2 separate regions of the Homo sapiens genome follow, and region 1 is linked to region 2. Evidence: promoter capture Hi-C in 16 types of primary human blood cells and fetal thymus (Javierre and others, 2016). All regions are on one chromosome and are shown on one strand. The core of a region is centred on a gene start or on the middle of the fragment in contact, and the rest is flanking DNA. Distances in the headings are between cores, read along the strand shown.

Evidence for each region. Contacts are between HindIII fragments. The CHiCAGO score rates a contact against its expected background, and 5 or more counts as called.
Region 1: a contact is called between a fragment that was not itself captured here and the fragment with the promoter of FBN1 in region 2, in 3 of 17 cell types (erythroblasts, megakaryocytes and endothelial precursors). The highest score is 8.9, in erythroblasts.

Annotation. Positions count from the first base shown.
Region 1 is chr15:48,333,592-48,340,125 of GRCh38, forward strand. DUT (deoxyuridine triphosphatase) reads left to right here. Exons shown (of 7, transcript NM_001025248.2): 3 at 826-917; 4 at 2,455-2,499. Among named protein-coding and RNA genes, the nearest start is that of DUT-AS1, 5.0 kb to the left of the region's middle. RefSeq lists a silencer at 3,426-3,495. The HindIII fragment of the contact is 2,422 bases long and covers 191-2,612 here.
Region 2 is chr15:48,642,757-48,648,836 of GRCh38, forward strand. FBN1 (fibrillin 1) reads right to left here and starts at 2,953. Exons shown (of 66, transcript NM_000138.5): 1 at 2,819-2,953; 2 at 1,850-2,194. The coding sequence starts at 2,013. It overlaps FBN1-DT (FBN1 divergent transcript), which reads left to right and starts at 3,049. Exons shown (of 2, transcript NR_183872.1): 1 at 3,049-4,074. RefSeq lists silencers at 1,928-1,977, 2,078-2,207, 2,618-2,797, 2,838-2,917 and enhancers at 2,991-3,515, 3,028-3,117. The HindIII fragment of the contact is 7,208 bases long and covers 195-6,080 here.

The DNA of each region.
Region 1 (6,534 bases), core at 152-2,651, 310 kb before region 2:
AAAGTAAACTTCCGGTTCTGCTCATTGTAAAATCTCTTAAATTTCTACCCAGGAGAGGGCCACAGTAATATCAAGAGTAGCAGCATTTGCTATGTGGACTTTAGAGGAATTCTGTTCCTAAGCAAGGTCCATCTCCAGGGGCCGTTCACGGTGATCAGCTGTCTCCCTCAGCCAGGAAATTCATAGCCTAAGCTTGGTAAACTACCAAGCCCTGCCTGACAGATACAACACAGTTCTTTATCTCTTATTTTGTCCACCCGTTTTTCTCCTTTCCTTCTGCATATTTTCCCTAATCACACAGATCATTGTGAGAATAAAATGGGTTAATATATGTAAACCAATTAGAACTGTTCCTGGCACACAGTAAAGGCTTAATCAATGATAGCTAGTATTATTAGTAGTATTTGGCCTTTTTTCTTTGTTCTTTCTTCATTTTTTTCCTTTTCAAACTATGGTTGTAAAGCATCCACCTTTTGAAAGTTTGCCTTTCTGCCCTTTCACGCTGATAAGTACCTCAGTTTCCAATAAACTTTTGTTCAGGGGCAAACATTTACAATGTTGACATCTCTTCACACCACCAAAAATATTCATGGAGAATTATTTTATCTAAAGCTGTCTTTTTAATAATAAAATAGCCACCTCTACCTTCTTCATAAACTTTTAAGATGAATTGGTAATTCATCATAGCAAGGTTGATTTTAGAAACTAAAGTTGCATTAATTCATTAAATACACTGAAAGTAATTTTGTATGCTTGGTCACAAAGAAAATATAAAAACAATTTTATAAATAGATTTGCAGTTATTTTCTTTCAATATTTTCTTAGTGCCTATGATTACACAATACCACCTATGGAGAAAGCTGTTGTGAAAACGGACATTCAGATAGCGCTCCCTTCTGGGTGTTATGGAAGAGTGGGTAAGTCATTTAAGAAACAGGTAACTATTTGTCAAGTTCTCCTTTGTGATAGATTCTTCATGTTTCATTTGGGGTAATAAGCAGGCAATATTGCTTGGGCTGTGTCCTAAAAGAAGCACCATTTGTGATAGCAAATGCACTCTTTGAAAGGCTTTATTTACATCTCTGCTTTGCCTCTTTTTGACCCTTTTATTTTTCTCCTTCCTCACTGGAGCTTTTAGGCTCACACTGGCCTAGAAGGCTGTTCTCAGAACATGGCATTTTATATTATGAGAGTAAAACTTCTGACCTGTTGGTCCCAGAATGTGTAAGCCTACTTAACCTTTTCTTGTTTGGCCATGGGGTTAGGGTAAGGGATACTCTTCAGTGTTGTAGAGGCACTGGGAGGAGCTAGGACAAAATGGAGTACACGTCAACAGGTTTGATTTTTCTGGAGCGGATCAGTTGTTACCAGACAGTTCTTTGCAAGAGCGTAAGTTCTTTTTGACTAACTTCAGAGTAAACATAAAGGAGGCAATGGAGCTGTGACGCCCTCCTCCAGGGAAAGGAGCTAGACTGGCACTATATTATTAGCCATGAGTGAGGAAACTGCCAGTACTTCAGCCCTTAAAAGATAACAAGATGGGCTCTCATCTCATCTCTTGAGCATCATTGACTCCATTTTTTAGAATTTTTTCAGGGGAAGGGGCAGGAGATGGAGTGAAATAAAGGTTAGTACAGAAAGAGGCAGCATTATTGACAAAGTGCCTGATTTAAATTATTCTAAAATAAAATGCTGGAAGTTAGGATAATTAATTATAGGCCTGATGCTTGAGTCTGCAATAATAAGGTGTAACCTTAGCTTTTTATTTTTTTCATTTTTTAGGATTAAAAAGTATACTAGCATTGAATCATTGAGACTTAGTTTTTGGCATTTTTACTTAACTGATATTAGCCCATTTATCTTACTCTGGTTCATGTGTTTCCTACAGGCATGTCTTTTGGCATCTGAATCATGAATAGTGGGGTCCCAAGTTGTAGGCTATGGTCTGCTACTATTTGGTTAGGTTTGTTTCCCTCTCCCTTCCTCTTCCTTTCCCTTCCCATCTGCATTGTACATGTTGTGGTGTCCCATCTTAAAACCAAAGTCTTCTTCCTCAGTAGTGTGTTCCTGCTGGCCATACTTCTCTTTCTTCCCCTTTGAGGCTTAACTTCTTGAAAGAGCAGCCTACAGTTGTTCCCGCTTGCTCACCTTTCAGCTCATTCTAGCAGTCCTTCTCCCCTGTCTGCAGCACCACAAATTCTGACTGAAGTCACATGGGAGTGGTTTAAGTTAGTTTTGAATTAAAACCTTGTGGAATTTTTCTAAACTAGTCTTTCCAACTTTGGTAATGCAGTATGATGAATATATATTCTTTAATTCAAAACCATGTGCTAAAGTTAAGATGAAGATATAGATATTATAGGTGAAGAGAATGACATGCTTAAATTGCATCAGTTATCTCTGATATAGCCCTTCCCCCTTAAAATAACCAATGTCTCCTTTTTTGTTTTTTAGCTCCACGGTCAGGCTTGGCTGCAAAACACTTTATTGATGTAGGAGGTAATATATTTCCTTTTTTATTCTGTAAATGTTTGCAAGTATTTACTTTGTCTTTAAAAGGTAATATTCAAATGACAGATTTTATTTTTAAGAAAAGAAAATGATTAGAGGAAAGCTTGTTATAATAGGAGGAAAAGCTTTGTGGTTATTTTAAGTAATTATATTTTGTTTAACTACTAACTTAATTTTTAAAATAATGATTACCTAATTAATAATGACAGATTTAATGATATAATAATTAAGTAATTATTTAAGCAACAAAAGTTCTAGAAAACACAGGTCTATCTTGTAAGAATTTTCTTCATAAGAGAGCTATCTGTCTTTAGCAAAATTTAAGAAGAAAATCTTTCCCTGAAGTCAGGAGAGAAAACACTTTTCTCTAAATTTGTTAAGACAGTCCTCTGTGTTACCTGTTTCCCTTATAATAAAGCCTTTCTCATGTTTGTCTCAAAGTTAACCCTACCTCATGTGGTACCTTTCATGAAGAACCCTCAGTGTCCTCTGCTAACTACTCTTGATACAGAGCTACTCCTCTTATTGTAAGGAAATTTCTACTTTCCTGATGTGGTTTCCTTGTTTCAGGTCCGCTCCAACTGGGATTCAGACCCCACTTATGTGGTCCTTACATACTGACCCTTTATCCCATCAGTAGTGAATCTTTCACTTAACAAGATACCTTGGCCCCCACATAAGTAGGTGTGCTAGATCTCCTCCTCCACCCGTTTTTACAGAGCTGCTTTATGGAGGCTTGTTAACAGATCAGGAAAACTGGCTTAGAAATGAGCCCACATGGATATGTGGTAAAAACTGGAGTCTCTGTGTGATTCCAGCCTCCTTGTTCTTTCCACTGCAATTAATTGTGGAGATTACCCTGCTGCATCCCCCTCACCAACTAAACACGTCCAGAATTAGCTCACTTTTATGTGCCACTGCAAGGGCTAACTAAGCACTTAATGAAACCTGGCTATCCTAGACCTGCCCCTTAGTCTAACATTTGGTGGGTGTGGTGTCTCTCCATAGTGTCACCAGGTGGTGCTGTGGGACAAGACAGGACCCCAAAAGTACACCCTTTAGGGACTAAAGGGGAGCTGAGTTTTACATAGCAGGGTGGACATTGACAGCCCACTCTTGGGTTGAGGATTCCTTGGGCTCTGTAAGTTATGCCCGATGTTCAAAAATGCTTTTACAAGGTCAACTGTGGTCATTTTGGGACAGTAACTTAAGGATATAAATAATTGTATATATTTTCAATGAAGTTTCAAATGATTGTTCAAGGAACGGGAGCTTTGGAATAACAACTGGATGTAGGTCCCAGCTCTGTCATTAACTAGTTATTACTTAACCTTTCTGAGCCTGTTTCCTCATTTTACAATGGAAATTAGTGTGCCTGCCTCTAGAGGTAGGAGGATTAAATGATAATGTGTATGAAATACCTAATATAGTACTTGGCACATATTAGATTCTGTGAGATATAATTTCTGTCCTTAGGGACTTCACAGATTGTTTTTATGTGGAAACTTTTTCTTTTATTCGACTTTGTTACTAATTTTTGCTCTGTTTAAAACAACTTTCTGGAAAAAAATTCATGTAAAAGAATGGAAAGTTAGTTTGCCTAGTGGTTGGTATGGTGTTATTCATAAAATCACATTGTGGTGTGTTCTTGGATGCAGAGAATCTTAACAATCTCCCTTAGGCACAAGTTTATCATAGTTGGCAACAGTTTTTATTTCTGAAGAGAGATGTTGTTAGAAATCCCAGGCTCTAAATAAGGGTCAAAGGGAAAAGTTGAGCATTCAGGATTCTGTTCAGAATTCACATCTGGTAGGTGTGGATAGTTTTTCACTAAAAAAGGTTTCCAACAAATGACATGCCAAACTCTTGACACAGTAAAACTTTTGCCTGAAGTCAGTTAATCACTCTGCCAGTTCCAATGCATGATTTTTCCAGTGATAACTTCAAGTTACTTTCTGCTTTCTCTGAGGAGAAATATCCCTGATACTTATATCCTGTAGGCAGAGAAGGCTTTTCTTGGAGGTCGAATGGCAATTGGGTGGTAAATGAATTTGGAACTACTGAAATTTTTATACCGTCAACATTCATGCAAAAAAAAAAACTATTGAGGGCCTTTTTTTCTGCCATACATTTGAATTGACTTCAAACTTCTTAATTTCTTTTAGTCACTTAAAGGTTTTTCACATTTTCGTGGCCCAAGCATAAAGATCACCTATCTGCAGGATTCAAGACACCCAATCATTTGAGTAGTTCTGATAGGACTGCTTTACAGATACGTTAGCAGAGGCCTTTCAAAAAGGGAGTGTTTTTGTATGTTAGAAGATACTATAAAGCCAACAAGCAAATATTTGCAACTTATATGAAAAAGAACAAATGAGAAAAAAACATACACAAAATATAGACAAGGACATGCAAATGTCCAACAAATGGGAGGAAAAAAATCCAGCCTCACTAGTCATCAGGGAATGAAAAGTAAGGCAATGAGATAGCCATTTTGTACTCATCATATTGGCCAGAATGTAAGAGATTGTTGCCATCAAATATTGGCAAGGATTTTGGAAATGGGCATTCTCAAATATTGCTGATGGAAGTTTGAGTGGCTACACCTTTTTTGCAACCTATTTGATGAAAATAAAAAGCATTCATATACAAGGATATACTTAAAGGGCTGCTTCATTTATTATAGCAAAATGTAAAAGCAGCCTGTGTCTGATATTATGCAAGAGAATAGTTACATAGAAACAATGGTACAGGTTGGGCGTTGTGGCTCATGCCTGTAATCCCAGCACTTTGGGAGGCTGAGACAGGCAGATTGCTTGAGCCCAGGAGTTTGAGGCTTATTTGAGCAACATAGGGATACTTTCTCTCTACAAGAAATACAAAAATTAGCCAGGTGTGGTGGTGCCTTTGTACCTGGAGGCTGAGGTGGGAGAATCACTTGAGGTTGAGGCTATAGTGAGTTGTGATCATACCACTATACTCCTGCCTGGGCTATAAGAGTGAGACCCTGCCAAAAAAAGAAAGAGAAGGAGAGAGAGAACCCATATTTCCATATCTTGTATCTAAAAAGAATGGCTAACATTTACATATATTAATCTCAAAGGATAAAAAGAAAAAAATAAAGTAGTATGTAAGATATATTTCTGTAACATTAGCTATCTCAGGGAGGGTAAGAGAATATTATAAGCTTTTACTTTATATGTATTTGTATTGTTTTAGTTATTTAAAAATTTTTGAATAAAGTAGAAACAATAGTTCAGAAGTCAGTCCATGTCTTTCTCTAACTCATTCAAGATAGATGAATTATTAGCTTGTACCTCAAAATCTCCCAGCATGGAAGTTCTCTAGCCTACTGTGGCCATTTTTTCTAGCATGGAACAACATGCTATGTTGAGGGATTTCTTCATTAAATCTAATTTAAATTGTCCCTGCAGTCAAAATTTTTTCCATATAGATAATATGGAAAACAGCTGGTTTCATCTTTATATCAAATTTTTTCATAAATATTAAGGTGTAAATTAATGGTCAACTGACGGTGGAGAAATAAAGCAGGGTTTGGTATTGGAATTGGTCAAGTTCAATAATGGATTGTTTCCTTCAGGCCCGACAGGAGATGAACTGCCTTTGCTGCTTTTCTGCCCAGTTTTATACTCACTCTTCTCGTAAAAGTGTTGCATCAGGAACCTTTTAAGAAGTGCTTAAATTCAGATTCACTTGTCCCTAGTAATTCATTCATAAAGCACAGGGGTTCATTTAAACGTATGTTGTAATCCATTCGGAAAATCTAAAATGTTGTTTTTGCTGAATATTTTTCCCCGTGGTGGACCTAAGGGTTTGCTTTTTTCCCCCCATTATATGAGAAAATTGAAAGGATATGCTTAGGAATTACCCTTGTTCTTAAAAAATGGGGGGTGGGTATGCTTTGGGGTTTTTTTGTCTGTTTTCTCAGCTTTCAAATAATGAGGAGTATGGGCAAATAGCATTACTGCCCATTGAGCTGAACACAGGATTATTTTTATTTCC
Region 2 (6,080 bases), core at 1,703-4,202:
TTACAATTCTATTAATACCCTGTTTTTAGGAAGGCTTTATAAATAGTTTACAATAGGATAAGGTCTGTGTTAATGATCAAATACTGTGAGGAGCACAGAGAGGTATCTCTCTATAATCACAAACAAATTTAAAACCAGAGAGAAAAAGCACAAGTGTGAGTAAAAGTGTGGCATCCTGTTAAGCAACAAAGTAAAGCTTAGTTTCTTTTTTCACATTCCCAAGGGAACACACTAGTTGGTGACAGCCCAGAGAAATGAGACAAATGTCTGACCAGGCCTCACACCTCTCTGCAGATCTTCAGCCACAGAATTAAATCCCCACGTCCTTTATATACAGGAGCAATCCTATCAGAATAGATATTAAGATATTATTATGTAGGAGAAATGTATTTTTGAAGGAAAAATACTGGACTAAATGAGGTCCTCTTGAGAACATATGAAAATCAGAGCCTCAGTCTACTTATTGAACTTGCCATGTGCCTTGCACACAGGGCAATAAACATCTGCTGTCTGATCAAGGTCAGGTTTACCATGATAAGCAAACTTCCTTCCAACATTATCGGAATTCTGGGTTTATTTTCCACGAAGGCCAAGATGGAACCGAATTAATCATAACTATTTTCTGTGCTATTTTATCACAGCCTAAGTGCTTGGCTCATACAATCATCTTGTCCTTACTCCAGACTAGGAGTCAAAAACTGGTCTGGTGAGTTTACTTTTTCTTCTCATATCTGGGCCATACAAACACAAATTTTACTACATATACATGACTATAACACCTCATAACAAAAAAAGAGTAAGTGAAATGAACAGCCACATATCCAAGTGGATACCATCACTTGGTGACCCAGAGCTATATAATAAAGCTACAGAACCACTCAGGAAAAGAGCATCAGCGAGAATGGTAAGAATTTAATACAAAATCTCCCTATATATACTGTCTGAATTTATTTAACAGGCTCCTCCAAGAAGATAAAAGGGGTCACTGACAGTCCATCCTGTTGTTTCCATGGAGGCTTTAACTTAAACAACTGCAGACAAATTTCTCTTAAAGGAAATGTATTCCCACTGTCCTTCAATACAGGAAAATGACAACCCTTAGTCAAGTCTAATTAAAATTTTTCCGGCTGAAACATCTGTAACAGCGGCATGGGAAGCCAGTGAAATGGTCAGTTGCATGTACACAACACAAACACCACTAGTTAAAAATACTCCCTTAAGGCCGGCCACAGCAGCCTTACTGCTGCAGTGAAACGGAGAGCCCCACACAACTCAAAAAACCAGTTCTCAGAACCACTTGCCCTGTTCTGCTTCCAATGTAGACATCTAAAGGAAGCATTGCCCAGAAAACCCAATCCGTAATTTTAATAAGCATAATTTACGGAAGAGTCAACTACTGTGTGATTTCTCCTCTGACTGTCATGGGAATCCCTTCCTTTCCTTGCCCCCTTTCAAATACAGCATCTACCAAGATGACCCCAAGGAAAGTACTTTCCTCTAGAAACAACCAGAATTGATATTGCAGGGAAAGGAACGGGCTTCTCCTCTTATCCCACTCGCAACTCCTCCCCTTCTTCCCCAAGGAACTCTTCTCGCCTCCCAAAATCTGCCTCAACAATGGCCCAAGATTCCATTTAACCACGTCCTCTCCTTTGGGGCAGAAATCTCTGGGAGTAGGGGCAAGGTAGTTTAACCACGAACGGGGTGGGGACTAAACAACCCTAGCACCTCTAAGGTGCCCCCAGGAGGTCTTGCCAAGGAGTCTTCCACAGGGAGAGTCATCCTGCCCGTTGTTCTGGATCTTGAAACTTGGGAGACCCACACCAAAGGAGGGAACCGGTTCCTTTACCCTTTAAGCGCGTCGTGTCCTCCACCGCCTCTTCTCTTGGCCCGACTGGCTCTGGTTTCCTTCACGTTCCCAGCCTCCAAATTGGCGTCCGCCCCATGGCTCGTGTAGGACGCTAAAAGCACGGTAAATCCCAGGGCGATCTCCAGCAGACGCCCTCGACGCATGATGCCGAGCCGCCACCGGCTCCCGCCGCCTCTTGCCGCGCCCGGGGCTCGGTCTGCGGCCGCCGCTGCGCCCTGAAGCGCACCGCGCCGCCGGGGTCCCGCTATCCCGCCGCCCGTCCCCCGGGCCGGGCTCCTCCCGCCTTCTCCAGGCGCTGCTCCCACTTCAGGCGGCCCCTGCCAGCTGCAACACAGAGACAAATCCCCGAGGCGGGGAGACTTTCAGGGCATCGGGATGCTGAAGCCTCGCGGTCCCCATTCCCAAGCCCAACCCGTGCGCCGCCTGCGCGTGGCGCAGTTAATTTGGGTAAGGGAAGACCGTTTGGTCCACAGCTGGCTGGAAAGCCCAGGCCCCCGGCGGCAGCAGCCCCGGCCGATCCCTCGGCCTCCCGGGCCCCGCCAGAAGAGCGCGGCGCAAAGTACCCATATCCCCAGCGGTCCTAAGCCCCGGGCGAGCTCTCTGGGTTTATTTTTTTTAGCGGCACGAATTGCGCGCGATGCGCGCTCTGAACGCCCCACTCCTCAGCCTGCCCTCTCCGCCAGGCTGGAAGCCAGCCGCGCCGTCCCCGCCGACTCCGGGCGATGCCACCGCCCCCCGAACATCTGACGCGGAGCCCGGCACCAAGAGCCCCGGGCCAGGAAGCTGTCAGGCAGGGGAGGGCCAGCGCCAGCTGTGGACGTTCCGGGACAGCCCCTCACCCCAGTCCCTGTCCCTGCCCTCGGCGCGGCGCAAACGCAAAAGCCTCCGTGGCCGCAGCTCCAGCCCCGGTGGCCGCCCGACCCCCGTCGGGACCCCGGCTGCACCCACTGGAGAAGCGGCGGCTCCGACTCCCGAGGAGGCGGCGGCGGCTGCTCCCAGTCGTGGCCGCTACAGCCACTGCTCGGCTCCGCTCGCAGCTGTCCCAGCTGTGGCTCCTGTCCGCTTGTGGCACCCACAGTCTCTGCCGCGGCTCCCGCAGCCCCCTCCTTTCCCCACCTCTTCAAGTATCGTCCGCGCAGCGGTTTCTCGCGAGAGAAATACTTTTTTTAAAAAAAGAAAGAAAAAGAAAATGACACCCCCTCCTTCGTCGCCCTCATCACCACCCCACCCCCCGGCCCCATCCATCCTCCCTTTCCACTCCCCTTTGCCAGCCTCCGCCTCGGTGCGGGGCCTCTCGCTCGCAGGATTAGCGCAGTGGGAGGAGGCAGAGGTGATCAGGTCCTGCCCGGCCTGGGACTTTTTGTCTTGAGGTGGGGAGGGGAGAAATGGGAAGAGGTGGAGTAGCGGTTTTAGCCCGCTCTGCGGCTGCGAGGTTTAGATCCGAGATTAACCTCTCCCGCGATAGGTGAAGCCCTACCGGAGCAGAAAGCTGTTCCACCTGCACCAAGAATGCGCGCTGGAGACGGTTGCCCCGGAGGCCCTGGCCCGAGAGAAAACCAGTCCCCGCTGCCCGCGCCTCCCGGTAGCGCGCTCCCTGCGCCTCTCCCGCCGGACACTCAGCAGACGCCGGAGGCCGGGAGGCTAAGACTGGGCGCGTCGCAGGCCGGGACCGCGGCAGAGGCTGCTGTGCCGACCGAGGAGAGGGCTCTGCCGCCCCCACTTGCCCTGGGTGTCGAGAGCCCACTCCAGACGCGGCTCTTCTGAGGCTCAATTCAAGCCACCCAGGCCTGAATCCAGGGTGCTCTCTCTAAGTCGGTGTCCAACCCAGGGGCCTGTAAATGTTGGAACCTAGGATGTAGGATGGGAGCGGTGAAGGGATGGTCCTCTTGCCCAGCCCAGATTAAGACTGGGGTTCATCTGGAGGACTCTACTTACACCCTCCCGGTCCCCTCGCCCTCCCCCACACACAGCTGCCTCTCCCCAGGATATGCGCGGCACAGTGAATTTAGTGGCTTTGAAAGGTATAGTATTTGTGGCATCCTTATATGGATAATGCCCAATGATGCCTGCACCCTGTAACAGTTTAGGAAGGCCTGAAGTCGCACACTGGGTCCTGGCTGCTGTAACTGGAGACCCCCAGAAGATCCCCTGCAAGCAGCCACCAGCCTGCTGTCAAGCCAATAATAAAAGCTCAGCACAAACAGGTACCCTGGGAATGTATCTTGTTGAAAGGGATTTTCCTTATTTGTAACCGTTTGTAAAGGGGCCCAGACAGTAGGGTAGAGAGACCTGGGCAAGTTATTCAACTTCTTTCCAAATACAAGATGGGACTTGTAGTGTCCACCACACAGGGTTGTAATGGTGATGATGGACATGCTGAACTGCTGTGATACATGAAGATGAAACAGAAAAACTGTGGGAACTATGAGCTGATCTAAAGCCATAGTCCTGTAAGTATGTATGTGGTGTACTTTAAGGTCTCACCTGCAAAAGGTCTCTTAGCAGATTCATGAATGAGAGCCTTGGTCACACACTCCTGGCTGAGTAAAGGAGATCATTCATTCAAGATGTTTTTACTGAGCACGAACTGTGTACTACTTAGTGCATTGTTGAACTAGACTTCAACAATTTTAACAAGGCAGGTTCAACAATTTGAACACGACTGACTTCAACAATTTAGTGAAAAGGGCAGAAATGTGTCTCCCCTCACACAGCAGGTAGTCAACAAGGAAAGGCAGACTTGAAACAAATAATGGACCAATTGTTAAGCGCCAAACAGGATAAGTACTGGGTGCTTGCTTGGAGGATATATAACAAGGGGACTTGACCTAGGCTAGGGCTGATCAGGAAAGGGATCCCTGAGGAAGTGATATTTAACTTAAGTCTAAAACATAACTAGACTCTACTTAGGATAGCAGTTCTCAACCCTGGCTATGCAGTAAAATAATAAGAGGCTTTAAAAAAATTCTGACACCAGGATGGGCATGGTGGCTCATGCCTGGGCCTGTAATCCCAGCACTTTGGGAGACCAAGGCGGGTGGATCACTTTAGACCAGTAGTTCAATAGCAGCCCGACCAACATTGTGAAACCCTGTCTCTACTAAAAATACAAAAATTAGCCAGGTGTGGTGGTGCATGCCTGTAAATCTTGCTACTCAGGAGGCTGAGGCACTAGAATCGCTTGAACCTGAGAGGTAGAGATTGCAGTGAGAGGAGATTGTGCCACTGCACTACAGCCTGGGCAGAACAGAGTGAAACTCTGCCTCAAAAAAAAAAAAAAAAAAAAAAAATCTGACACTGACACCAGGCCCCAACACCCAGAGTTTCTGATTTGAGTAGTCTGTAGTGGATTCTTCACATGGATATTTTTTAAAGCTCCCTGGGTAGGGAGGGGTAAGGAGGTAATTCACACTGGGAAAAGGATCTGAGCAGAGGGACCATGGATTAGGAGAAAGCAGGGCTGTTGGACATCCAGAAAGGCCTTGTCCTGCCCACCAGTTTTCTGGGCTGCTCTGCACCCACAGGGGACTCTGGAAACTGCATGCTTTCCTTGTACTCCAGCAGCATGCAAGACATGCTGTGCCCTTTCTCTCAGAATCTTACACTCAGTGACATGTTGGTCAGCAGCAACCAAACACAAGCCTTTTCTAAGGCTTCTGCCCAGGAAGTAAAGGCCAAATCCTGGTGCCCTGCAAGTCCCCTCTTCCAACATTTCTGGACATTTCTATTATTTCTAACTCAAACTGCCTTCCAGGGTTTCACCTCCAAGGGAGGGATTTGGATTAAACGTTTTTACCTGGCCTTTGCTTTCCCCGGCAACCTCCTCTTTATTCATTGGCCTCTTTCTCCAATAAAGGAAAGATTCTTCCTTCATATTGGGTGGCAGCTCCAAGCCATATACTCCCCTCTTTGAGCAATAAGTCTCATGTTCTGACCACAATGGTGGAAGATTACAGGGGAAGGGGAAGCAGGGGGAACTTGATTACTTAAAAGTAAATACATTTTAAATATACAAGAACTATTCCCGCTATCTAGGCAATCAACATGTATTAGAGTAGCATGCTACTTATGACAAAATTCAGTAACGAATAATAAAAATCTGTGTCTTTGCAATAAGATTTTCTTGATGCCAGATGATTGAGGACCCAACTCTCCTTAAACCTATCACAGACTTTTTTTTTTTTTTTCGTAATAGGTTGTTTTGCACTGT